2 separate regions of the Homo sapiens genome follow, and region 1 is linked to region 2. The links are contacts of gene promoters, found by promoter capture Hi-C in blood cells and fetal thymus (Javierre and others, 2016). All regions are on one chromosome and are shown on one strand. The core of a region is centred on a gene start or on the middle of the fragment in contact, and the rest is flanking DNA. Distances in the headings are between cores, read along the strand shown. Region 1 overlaps RFX3 (regulatory factor X3). Region 2 holds the start of IFT74 (intraflagellar transport 74).

The links. The method cuts DNA at HindIII sites, captures the fragments that hold promoters and counts their contacts. A CHiCAGO score of 5 or more calls a contact.
Region 1: a fragment that was not itself captured here is called in contact with the fragment with the promoter of IFT74 in region 2 in 1 of 17 cell types (total CD8 T cells); the score reaches 5.6 in total CD8 T cells.

What each region holds. Positions count from the first base shown.
Region 1 is chr9:3,520,077-3,525,043 of GRCh38, reverse strand. The region is part of intron 1 of RFX3 (regulatory factor X3); the gene reads left to right. Among named protein-coding and RNA genes, the nearest start is that of RFX3, 3.4 kb to the left of the region's middle. The HindIII fragment of the contact is 1,711 bases long and covers 422-2,132 here.
Region 2 is chr9:26,952,946-26,958,216 of GRCh38, reverse strand. IFT74 (intraflagellar transport 74) reads right to left here and starts at 1,805. Exons shown (of 20, transcript NM_025103.4): 1 at 1,701-1,805. IFT74-AS1 (IFT74 antisense RNA 1) reads left to right here and starts at 1,910. Exons shown (of 2, transcript NR_121605.1): 1 at 1,910-2,090; 2 at 2,202-2,437. RefSeq lists a silencer at 232-526 and enhancers at 1,123-1,857, 1,858-2,593. The HindIII fragment of the contact is 1,304 bases long and covers 981-2,284 here.

The DNA.
Region 1 (4,967 bases), core at 28-2,527, about 23 Mb after region 2:
AACAGTCTTAACATCCATTCAGCACTCTTCCCTCCCCCTCTTTCTCCCCCCCCCCACACACCCCTTGCACACATATTGAAACCTGGGGCCTGTTCGTTGGGCCCTCTTTGCTGTACTGGGAAAGATGTTTTTCTTTTTTAAAGTCTGTCTCCTCTCTCTTCTTTGGTGTGTGTGTGTGTGTGTGTGTGTGTGTGTGTGTGTGTGTGTGTGTGTGTGCTTGTGATTTAAACCGGATGCAGGGCATCTGTGATACTTGGGTTAGTAGTTATTGACAGTGCTTTATCCTTCATGTGGAGGTGGGAGGGGGAGTAGTGAGGTTCCGTTTCACTTTGATGATCCTCCTTCCCCGCAGTAGAGTGTTAACAATTTTCATTGTGATTATGAGACTTTGTGATGAACAGGGAAGGGACACAAGGAAGCTTTGTGAGAACTCAGTTCACAGTGTTATTTGTGACAGTTATGGTACTTTAAGAGTTTTTTTTTTTTTAATCTCCTCATTTTCCTTTGAGAGTTGAAATTCAAGTCAAGTTCATAAAGAATGTATGAAGGTTCTCAACTTGAAACGTGTGTATATTTCACTTTCTTTCTGGTTAAGATCTAGGCATGTGTGTACTTAACATATTCTTTTTATTTACTTTTTGATTTTCTTTGGACAGTGACTTGAACCTGCTCAGGAGAGAGAACTTTTTCCTTTTTAAGTATTTCTTTTAAAAATTATTTTTCTCTGTAGATTTGAATACTTATTAGTCCTTATATAGTAGGTTCTTGGTTAACGTTAACCCAGTTTTACAGATCCCCTAAATTTGTTCATTTTTTTCAGCTTAACTTTTAGTTAATAGATTTATCAGTAGAGTTTTGATAATGAATGTGTGCTAAAACAAATATAATGTACTATTGTAGTTGCACATATTGAAGTTTTAAATTTACAGTTTTAAAATGCTTATTCAAATAGTCTTCTTTCTAACAGCAAACATATATTGATTTAACTGACACAGCAGCTTGTGAATAATGTGACAGTACTAATTATTCTTGAGATTGTCAACGAGCAGGGTGGGTAATTATAATGCTATTAAGGCTAATATTTTGTAAAATAAGAGTTGGGATTTTAAAAAAACTTTTTCAATTCATTTCCTTGTGATTGCTATTTTAAATGAAGACGATATTTTGTTCTGAAAGAAGTCTTTCTCAGAGCACTCAGATTTGTTTATAATTATTCCTCCTCTCCCCAAACTGGGTTCCATGCAAATCTCTAATACTAACTTGTATTTTTTTTTCTGTTCAGATGAGTGTCAAATGCCTGAACACTTTTGGATGGTGAAGCTCCTGGGTCCTATAAACTCTCTCTGAAGTTAATAGGAGTTTTGCTGTCTTGGGACAGTTTCAGACCTTATGCCATTTACATAATAGGTTTTCAGTTAAGTAAATTATATACTATAATGTTATGGTTTAATATTTTATTTACAGTGTCTGAGAACTTTTTTTGAGGCATTTCACTCATGTATAGCTCAGGTTTTCTGTGATTTAGATTTTCATTCACAAGTTGATTTGAGAGCAGAACTTAAATTGAATTTCATTACTTTTCCATTTTTTGAAGCATATATGTGGGATAAAATTGCTATTAGAGCTGCTGTGGAATTGATTAAATAATCAGAAACACTGAGAAATGGTAAATTTAAAAATTAAACACAAGGATAGATACTTAGCATTTACTTTATTCTTTCTTAATATTTTTCCTAGAAGGGACTATGTTATGTATTGATACTCTCTTGTGTTTTCAGTTTTTATACTAATAGAAATTTGTAAAAGTGATCATGCTTTGAAACTAAAACTATTAAATAGAAGTCACTTGTAACTTGTTTTGAATAGTCAAATGTCTGTGATTCAATGTATGTCATAATGCCTAACTCAGTCGTTTTGGTGTGTTTTGCCTATGAATTGTATTAAATGGTGTAGGCATCATACATATACACATATATGGCAAACTAATGAATTTCTAGAAGTTTTGCATCGTTTCACAATGTTTTCATTAAAGGTTGTAGTGATGGTTAGTTTTTTTTGTATTATTCCTCCAGTACTCAAATAGTCTTGTACTCTGCTTTGGTACTCAAATAAAAGGTTATAGTTTATAAGCTTACTGTGCTTTAACCTGGAACAGTTTATTTTACCCTAAACAATTTATTATGGTTAATTTTTTTACCATTAACAATAGCAATTAAAAAATGAATGAATCTTAAAGGCAAGTTGGATTTTATGCGTCGTTTAAATGATAATGTATGTTACTTTTTGGTAACATTTTTCATTTCTTGAGAAAGTTGATATTGTGTTGGTATTCTCCAGCTGAAGAAATTAGCAGGCAGAATATAATGATTTTTGGTTTTCAGATTTTAAAGTCTGTGTGTGTGTGTGTGTTTGTGTTTAAATGGGTGGGCATAGCAGCAGATGTGTGGCAAAAGTTACACACACACACACACACACACACACACACACGCACACACACTTTTCCAGAACAGTAATAGGAATATTACTTTGTTCTTAGTATCCATAGTGAGAATGTGTTACAAGAAATGAGAATAGGGAAGAAGTAAACTTTAACATTTTTGAGAGGCTCCTGGTTATTTTGTTTTAATGCTGAACCTTTGGCTAAAAATCCTCTATTTGAGCTCAGTTACCTTAAAAACAGTTTTCATAACTGAGTAATTTGCCTTTAACTCTTTGGTATATATTCCCAGTGGCCATGACAAAGTATGTTTTAAATTCCTCTCTATTCACAGATACATAGTGTTCCCATATTTTGGAAATCCAAGATTAAGTGGATTTGACTAAATCTGGCTTGTTAGGGACAGATGGCTGCTTTAAACAGGTGTCACTTTCATTTTTTACTGCATTGTGTTGGGACTTCCAGTGGTTGACAAAAGGGCTGTCTAAAGCAGGTGGCATCCTTTGCTTTTGTTGTTAGTAAAATCTACTTTTAGAGTTTTCTAGGAAAAGTTTTTTTTTTTTAAAGTAAAAGTTTTGAACTACTCAAGATTCGTAATTTAACATAACTTTTATTTCTGAATATTCTATTTTTAAGTGGTAGAACCTGCAGATTCTTTCACAAAACACTTATCAATTCTTATAAATAATGGTAAATTCCCTTTGAATCCAGAAAAAGTACACAGGAACATTTTACACACCCAAGTCAAACCCCAAGGCCAATTTGAATAAAGTGAAATTTGGTTAACATGACAAGTTAACTTTTGTCATCCTTTACTGAAATAATTTTTTGACAGCATTTTTTATATGTTGGAAATAGGTGTTGTTTTTGTTGGTTAAGTATTTTCAAACTAAGACATTTCCTGACTTCATTTACTGCTATAAAGTTTATAGTGATCTTTTAAAATGATAATATTTTTAAGTATTAATGTTCAAAAATATGTACTGCAGTAAATAAAAAAACTATCAACCTATTGATTTCTAAGGTTCACTTTTACTCTACAATTCTGTCCTTTTCTGTGGGAATTTTATATTTCTTATAACAGATGCACCAGAGGGTGCTGTGCTGTTTGCAACATGAGATTATTATCACTAAGAATGTGAACTCACTAGAACTTTTATTTAAAGAAAAAAATTTTTAATTATATATGCATTGAAGCATATAATAGGCTTATTTTTATGGAGTTTAACATACTATCTTAATTGGCAGTTTTACATCAGAACCTAACTTCGTGTACTAATACATATTACCGCAACATATAACAATATAAAGATTGATATCTTTGGCACTGTCTGGCATTAGTCCTATAGGCATATATGTTGATTATCTTATGTAGATATTTTAATCTTTATTTCAAAACTTAGGTTACCCTGAGAATCATACTATTTGGCGATATGTGGCTTTATACTTCTTAAATTTCATATGATTAGCACATATCAATAATTGTCCATTCTTATAACACTTTTACATGGCATAGTGATATGCTTTTTATTGTATAATCTTTAAAAAAACCACTGGAAAAATAAATGGCAATAGTGGTTATCAGGCTAATTCATAATAAAATAGTATTGACATTATCTAGATAATTCTGGCTGGTTGTATTGGTTCACATTTATAATCCCAACACTTTGGGACTGAGGCAGAAGGATCACCTGAGGCTATGAGTTCAAGAGCAGCCTGGGCAACATAGCAAGATTTCATTTCTGTAAAAAAAAGTAAAAGAAAATTAGCCAGCCTTGCCGGTGCGTGCCTGTAGTTCAAGCTACTCAGGAGACTGAGGTGAGAGAATTTTTTAGCCCAGGAGTTTCAGGTTACAGTGGGCTATGATCATGCCACTGCACTTTAGCCTGGGTGACAGAGCAAGACCCTGTCTCAAAACACCAAAAACAGAAACGAATGCAATCCGTACTTCATGCTGTTGGAATAGGCTAGTTTGATTGTTTAATTTGGCTTATTATCTGAAAACTTTTAGGTTCCCAGCCCTACTGTGTGCCATATACTTTTAAACTGGGAGTGATCTTATATTGCTTTTTGTATTTTATTTGTTCAGTGAGAGATTTTTAGGAGAATACTGAATCCAATCTTGGGCTACTTCTTGTATCATCGACTCTTTTCACAGCAATATATACTCTAAAAGACATACTGAAACAGTGATACCTTCCTTAAGTAAGCTTAGAAAGATACAGTTACAGCATATAAACTTTTTAATCTTGATAATGGATTTATCTGTACTAGTCCATATTTTACTATAATTAGTTAATTGTGATATTTTTATAAAGTAAGCTTACAAGGCATAGTAGTTCATGTGTGTTAGACTGCCTCAAAGAATCCAAAACATTTATTAAAGTAACACTATGTTTAAATACTGGTCTTGCTAAAATAGGTTAGGCATTTTTCTTTAAAAATATAGTCCTACAGTTTACCAGTTAGTTTTTGCCACTAAGATTTTTCCTTTTTTGAAACAGGGTTTTGCTCTGTCACTCAGGCTGGA
Region 2 (5,271 bases), core at 556-3,055:
CACCCTTTATGGCAAGAGCTGAATCTTAATCATCTTTATATCCCCAAAATCTGTCTCAGTGATAAGCAAAAACTTTGTTCTCTCTTGTATCTTTTAAATTTCCTCGTACATAAAGGTATTGCCAATTACAAAAATTTACTAAATTGTTAAAAAGCAAACAAAGCGACCGGGAGCGGTGGCTCACGCCTGTAATCCCAGAACTTTGGGAGGCCGAGGCGGGTGGATCACGAGATCAGGAGATGGAGACCATCCTGGCTAACATAGTGAAACCCTATCTCTACTAAAAATACAAAAAAAAAATTATCCGGGCGTGGTGGCGGGCGTAGTCCCAGGAGGCGGAGCTTGCAGTGAGCCGAGATCGCGCCACTGCACTCCAGCCTGGGCGACTGAGCAAGACTCCGTCTCAAAAAAAAAAAAGGCAAACAAAGCGTGTGTTGGACTAAAATGATTTCTCTGTTTCTACACTCTATGTCCAGTACTACTTTTCTGACTTTTCTTAGCATTACTCGTAATCAGTCCTTGGACTGCTTCTATCCTTTCTACAGTCATGCATCTTTATAACTCCAACTATGTGTACGGCTCACTAATCAATGTCTACAGTTCTGCCCTTTCAACTGGGCACCAATTTTGAGTTTTCAATTGTTTATCTGAAATTTCCATTCAGATATCTCATTTGAATATGTTCACATCAATCTTCCTGACCCCACTAGCTCCCTGATTCTAATTCCTTGCCATTTTGAACTCTATGTACAAAGCAAAAGAATTTCAAATGGAAAAAGGAATTTCATGAAATGACTCTTTGAAAAGGAAGACGGTGTATGATCAAAATGGTTTTTCCAGAAGAAAACGAGTACAATAAACATCTCTTTCCAGTGGAAAAGATATTACTCTAGGTTTCCTGCTAACTTTGAGAAAATGTACAACATAAAAAATTTCACCCAATTTTCTTTGCCACCGTTTTACTGTGGTGAAAAAAAGCTTACCATTATATTATTACCAGTGGGATTAAGAGGCGGGCATTAGCAACAAATATACCACTAACTTCGGGGTTATTCAATCAAAGAGTCACACAATTTCCAATTATTCACACAGAGAGGCAGCCTGGCCTTTGGATCCAGAATGATTAGCGATACAAACTAGTGCTGACAAAGTTAGCGGCTGCATAATCTTGCCACCTTAATTAACCCCTCAGGATTTCATCTTCTGTAAAACAGAAGGGTGACATCTACCTTGCAGGGCTGTTGTGAAGACGATAAGTATTACATTTAAAACATCTGCTTCTAATTATTATTACTATCGTTATCCTCCCTAAGCCAACCATTCTCACACAGGTGAATAAGTGGAAAGTTGCTAACTGCCCGCACTGTGATCAACAGACAGAAATAAGTCCCTTCCACTGTAAGAGGCAGAAATGTATTGCTTTGACTAAAATCCTTCAGCCCATCGCGGTCCTTCCCTCTGCTCTGTGCTTGGCGGGTCTCCTGCGGGGGGTCGGGGAGGGGTCGGGCTGTTGGAGGAGGTCTGTTCGCAACCTTCGCTCGACTAGAATTGGTACATGCCTGGCCTGGCTACAGGCCCGACGGTAACAGTTAGCTAAGACCGAGTTTGAATTTGTTTTGTTTGGAGCGGATCAGCATCTCCAAGGCAAGAGAACAGACGTGGGAGGGAGGGAGGAAGAGATGGGACCCGGGGATTCTCACCTCCGCCGGCGCGGAAGGAGGGCAGTTGCCCGGCTCGCGGGTGCCTTAACTTCTTTCTGAGGCCCACGCTCAGTTTTCCTCGGCTCTCAGGCCTACCCACTAACTGCCGTGCGCCGCGGCGTATCCCGGCAACGGGGGCGGGATAGCGGAGGCTCCTCATCCTGAGTGACCAATCCTCCGCCTCAGCCCTTGGTTACACACGGAGCTCTCGCGAGAATTGAGGATATGTTTGTTTCTTCACCACGCTTCAGTGCTTTTTGGAAAAAGTGGAAAACAGCGGGGCGGCTGGAAGACAAACATTTTATGTGAACGTTTGGTTTTCTTGATAATCAGAGCAACCTCCGTGTGCCTTACTTGAAGTAACTCTAGCGAGTTTTGCTATGTCCCTAGGTAACCTCACGTCGGCTAACGTTGTTAACAGGTTACATTTGAAGTTAAGTGGTAGGCAGCATTGTGCAATTTTCTAAACTCCTAATTTGTGGTAGTTTTCCTTCCTATTAGGACGGCATAGCGTACACAACGCATCATGAAGTATGGATGCGATTCTGGCACCAACTGTTCCGTTCCTGCTTTCACCAGAAGCTTTGCGTCTTTAAGCTTCCTTTCATTAGAATTTGGATCCAAGTTTGTGGGGAAGACTGTGAATTCAATGGAAAGTGTCCTTTTTTTTTTTTTTTTTAATTTAAGAACTACTTCACCTTAAATCCCACTTCTCTAATAAAATAACTTTTACTGTATGTTTCCTTCCAATCTTCATTGATAACAGCTTAAATGTGATTGCATATGTATTGGGATTTTAACATTATTTTACACATTATTTCCAACTTGCCTGCCTTCGAGGAGTTAAAAATCAATACAACACAAAATGAGATAATGTTATGTGGCTGAATTCTCCCTTAGTTTGTGAAACATTTTCATGTAATTATCTCATTTGAGCTCACCCTATTTGCAGTGGCCATTTGTCATCCTTTTGGCAGAGTTTCTCCCTTACCCTGCCCCCCAACACCCTTACAGGAACTGAAAGTGACAGATACTGGCTTTCCTAGTCTTCCTTATTACTGGGACATGAGTATTATTGCTTGCTAGACTCTCCAATCTAATTTGGTGGACTCAACTCAAACTTGAATGACAACCAGAAGCAGGACTTCAGAGAGTCTGTTGAAGTAAGGGTGACAGCCGCAGTAACTACATCGTTTCCGAGACTGCAATGTTCTATCACCAGCAACCAGTGTCCAGCATCAGTGTGTTGTTGCAAGCTGCAGTGTTAGGTACTCAGAGGCTTTATTGGGAGGAGAACCTCTAGCTTGTTTCTTCAGCTTCTGGGAGAGTCTGTGAGCTGCTTAATGTCCTTTAATAAATTCATTTTCAGCTTTTATATCATTTATAGATGATTTCTGTTCCTTGCACTTAAGGACCCTGACAGATATTAACAGTTGAAATTGGCAGGACAGATACTATTATCCAAGTTTTAAAGAGATTAAATAATTTGCTTAAGCTCATTTAGGTAGTAAGTATTGATCCCTGTCCCCATTTCTTTTTCATGATGAAAAAGGAATAGAGAATAGGAATACATCTCACTTATTTGCCTCTGAGCTTCCTTAGAGTAGGCACCATATCTTATTTGACTTTGGATCATTATGTATTAGGTTCTGTTGCTTTTAAGGTTATATCAAATTGGAATTAGGTTATATCAAGTTGTAATTTGGTTAGTAATTAGGTTATGTCAAATTTTAAGTTTATTGTAAGACTACTTGTGTTTCAAGTTCCTTTCTGTCTCTAGTCCTTTTCACTGCAATTCTCTCTTCCTGGAATCTTTGTCCCTCTGCTTTTCACTGTCCAAAGTCCTGTTCATCATTCAGGTCTTAACCCAAATGTCTTTTATTAGAGAGGTCTTCTCTGCCAGTCCATACTAGATTAGTGCTCCAACTCCTTCTGGCCCCCCACCTCATTATATGTCCTCAGTGCACCCTGTACTATTCCTATCTGTTAAAAGGTAAACTTTGGCACATTAAAATTTTAAAGAGCTTATTTGAACAGACAGCAATTCATGAATTAGGCAGCTCCAAATCATAAGTGGTTTGGGGCTCCCCCAGAGGTAGTTGAAAGCTTTCAGAGAGTAAATGCAGAGCACAGCAAAGAAATTATTTGACTGGTTAAAGTTTGAGCAGTTGCCTTATTTGGACTGTTCTTGTGGGAAGTTCAAGACGATATAACTGATGACTAGTTGGCCACTTGTGATTCCGTTTTAAGTTTCAGTTTCCTCATGTAGGAACTCAGTGCATTAGAGCGACTTCAGTCTAATGGCCTCCAATTTAATTATTTTAACACTACATATCACTCATTATAACTTGCAGTTATATGTTTATTTTTGTTGTCAAAGATAACAAACCCTGACAGTAGGGACACATTTTTATCCATAATTTACTACTGCAATAGGGAAAATAGTCCAATGTGAAAGGAATTCAACCTTGATTTGTACAGCAGTGATTGGATGTTTTAAAGGGAGAATGAGGGAGTAGGGAAGGGAGCAAGTGGGTACTCAGTAGAGTCAAGGGCAATAAGGCCCAATGAAGAGGATACCACTTGGTACTGAATATGGCCAGTTACGCTTATGTAGCCCAGGGTGCACAGAAGAAAAATGTTAACAAAATAACTCAAAAATGTCTTTGTAGGATGTTTGTAGGTTTTTTAAGAAAATAAATTTTTTGGCCAGGTGTGGTGGCTCATGCCTCTAATCCCAACATTTTGGGAGGCCAAGGCAGGAGGGTCACTAAGGCCAGGAGTTCAAGACTGGCCTGGGCAACATAGTGAGACCCCCCCCCTACAAAAAATGAAAACAAAAATGAATCTTAAAAAAGAAAAGACACTTTGAGGAGTGACATCATTAAGGTATTCTACTGTAAAATAGAGAAAAGTTAGTGAACTTACTAGTGAATATGTACATCAACTGAAATAAGATTTTTGGATACACTGGTAGGAGTGTCTATTGAAAGAAGATGGCTATAGAAATCCAAATGCACATGTCCTTTGACCCAGTAACTCCACTTCTAGGAAGTGAGCATATATTCACACTGAATTTATACATATAAATGACATATGCTGATGTCCAAGGTTATTTATTTGAGCAGTGTTTGTTACAGAGAAAGATTAGGAAAAAAATCAAACAACACTGAATTAATAATGCTATAGTCATAAAATCACATAAAATTTGGCCATCTATAAAAAAGAATGCTCCTTGTATACTGATATTGCAGAGGCTGACTAGGAACCCCAGAGCTAGTATAAAAATATTATTTTAACCTGAAGGCATTTGATGAAGGGGGAAAAAAACCTTCTCAGAGAGTTCCTTATCTCACTGAAAGCAAAATTTCTGGGGAATGATGCTACCATAAATACCCTAACTTATGGCCCGGAAGAACACCACTCCTAACTGTATAGATGAACGTGAACACAAACTTTCTTATTTGTTCTCCTAAAAGTCAATGTTTCTATTTTTTTCCCTGTAAAAGCTGTTTCTCCCCCACCATTTTCCCTACTAAGTTAGTTATATAAGCCTTTAACTTTAATCATT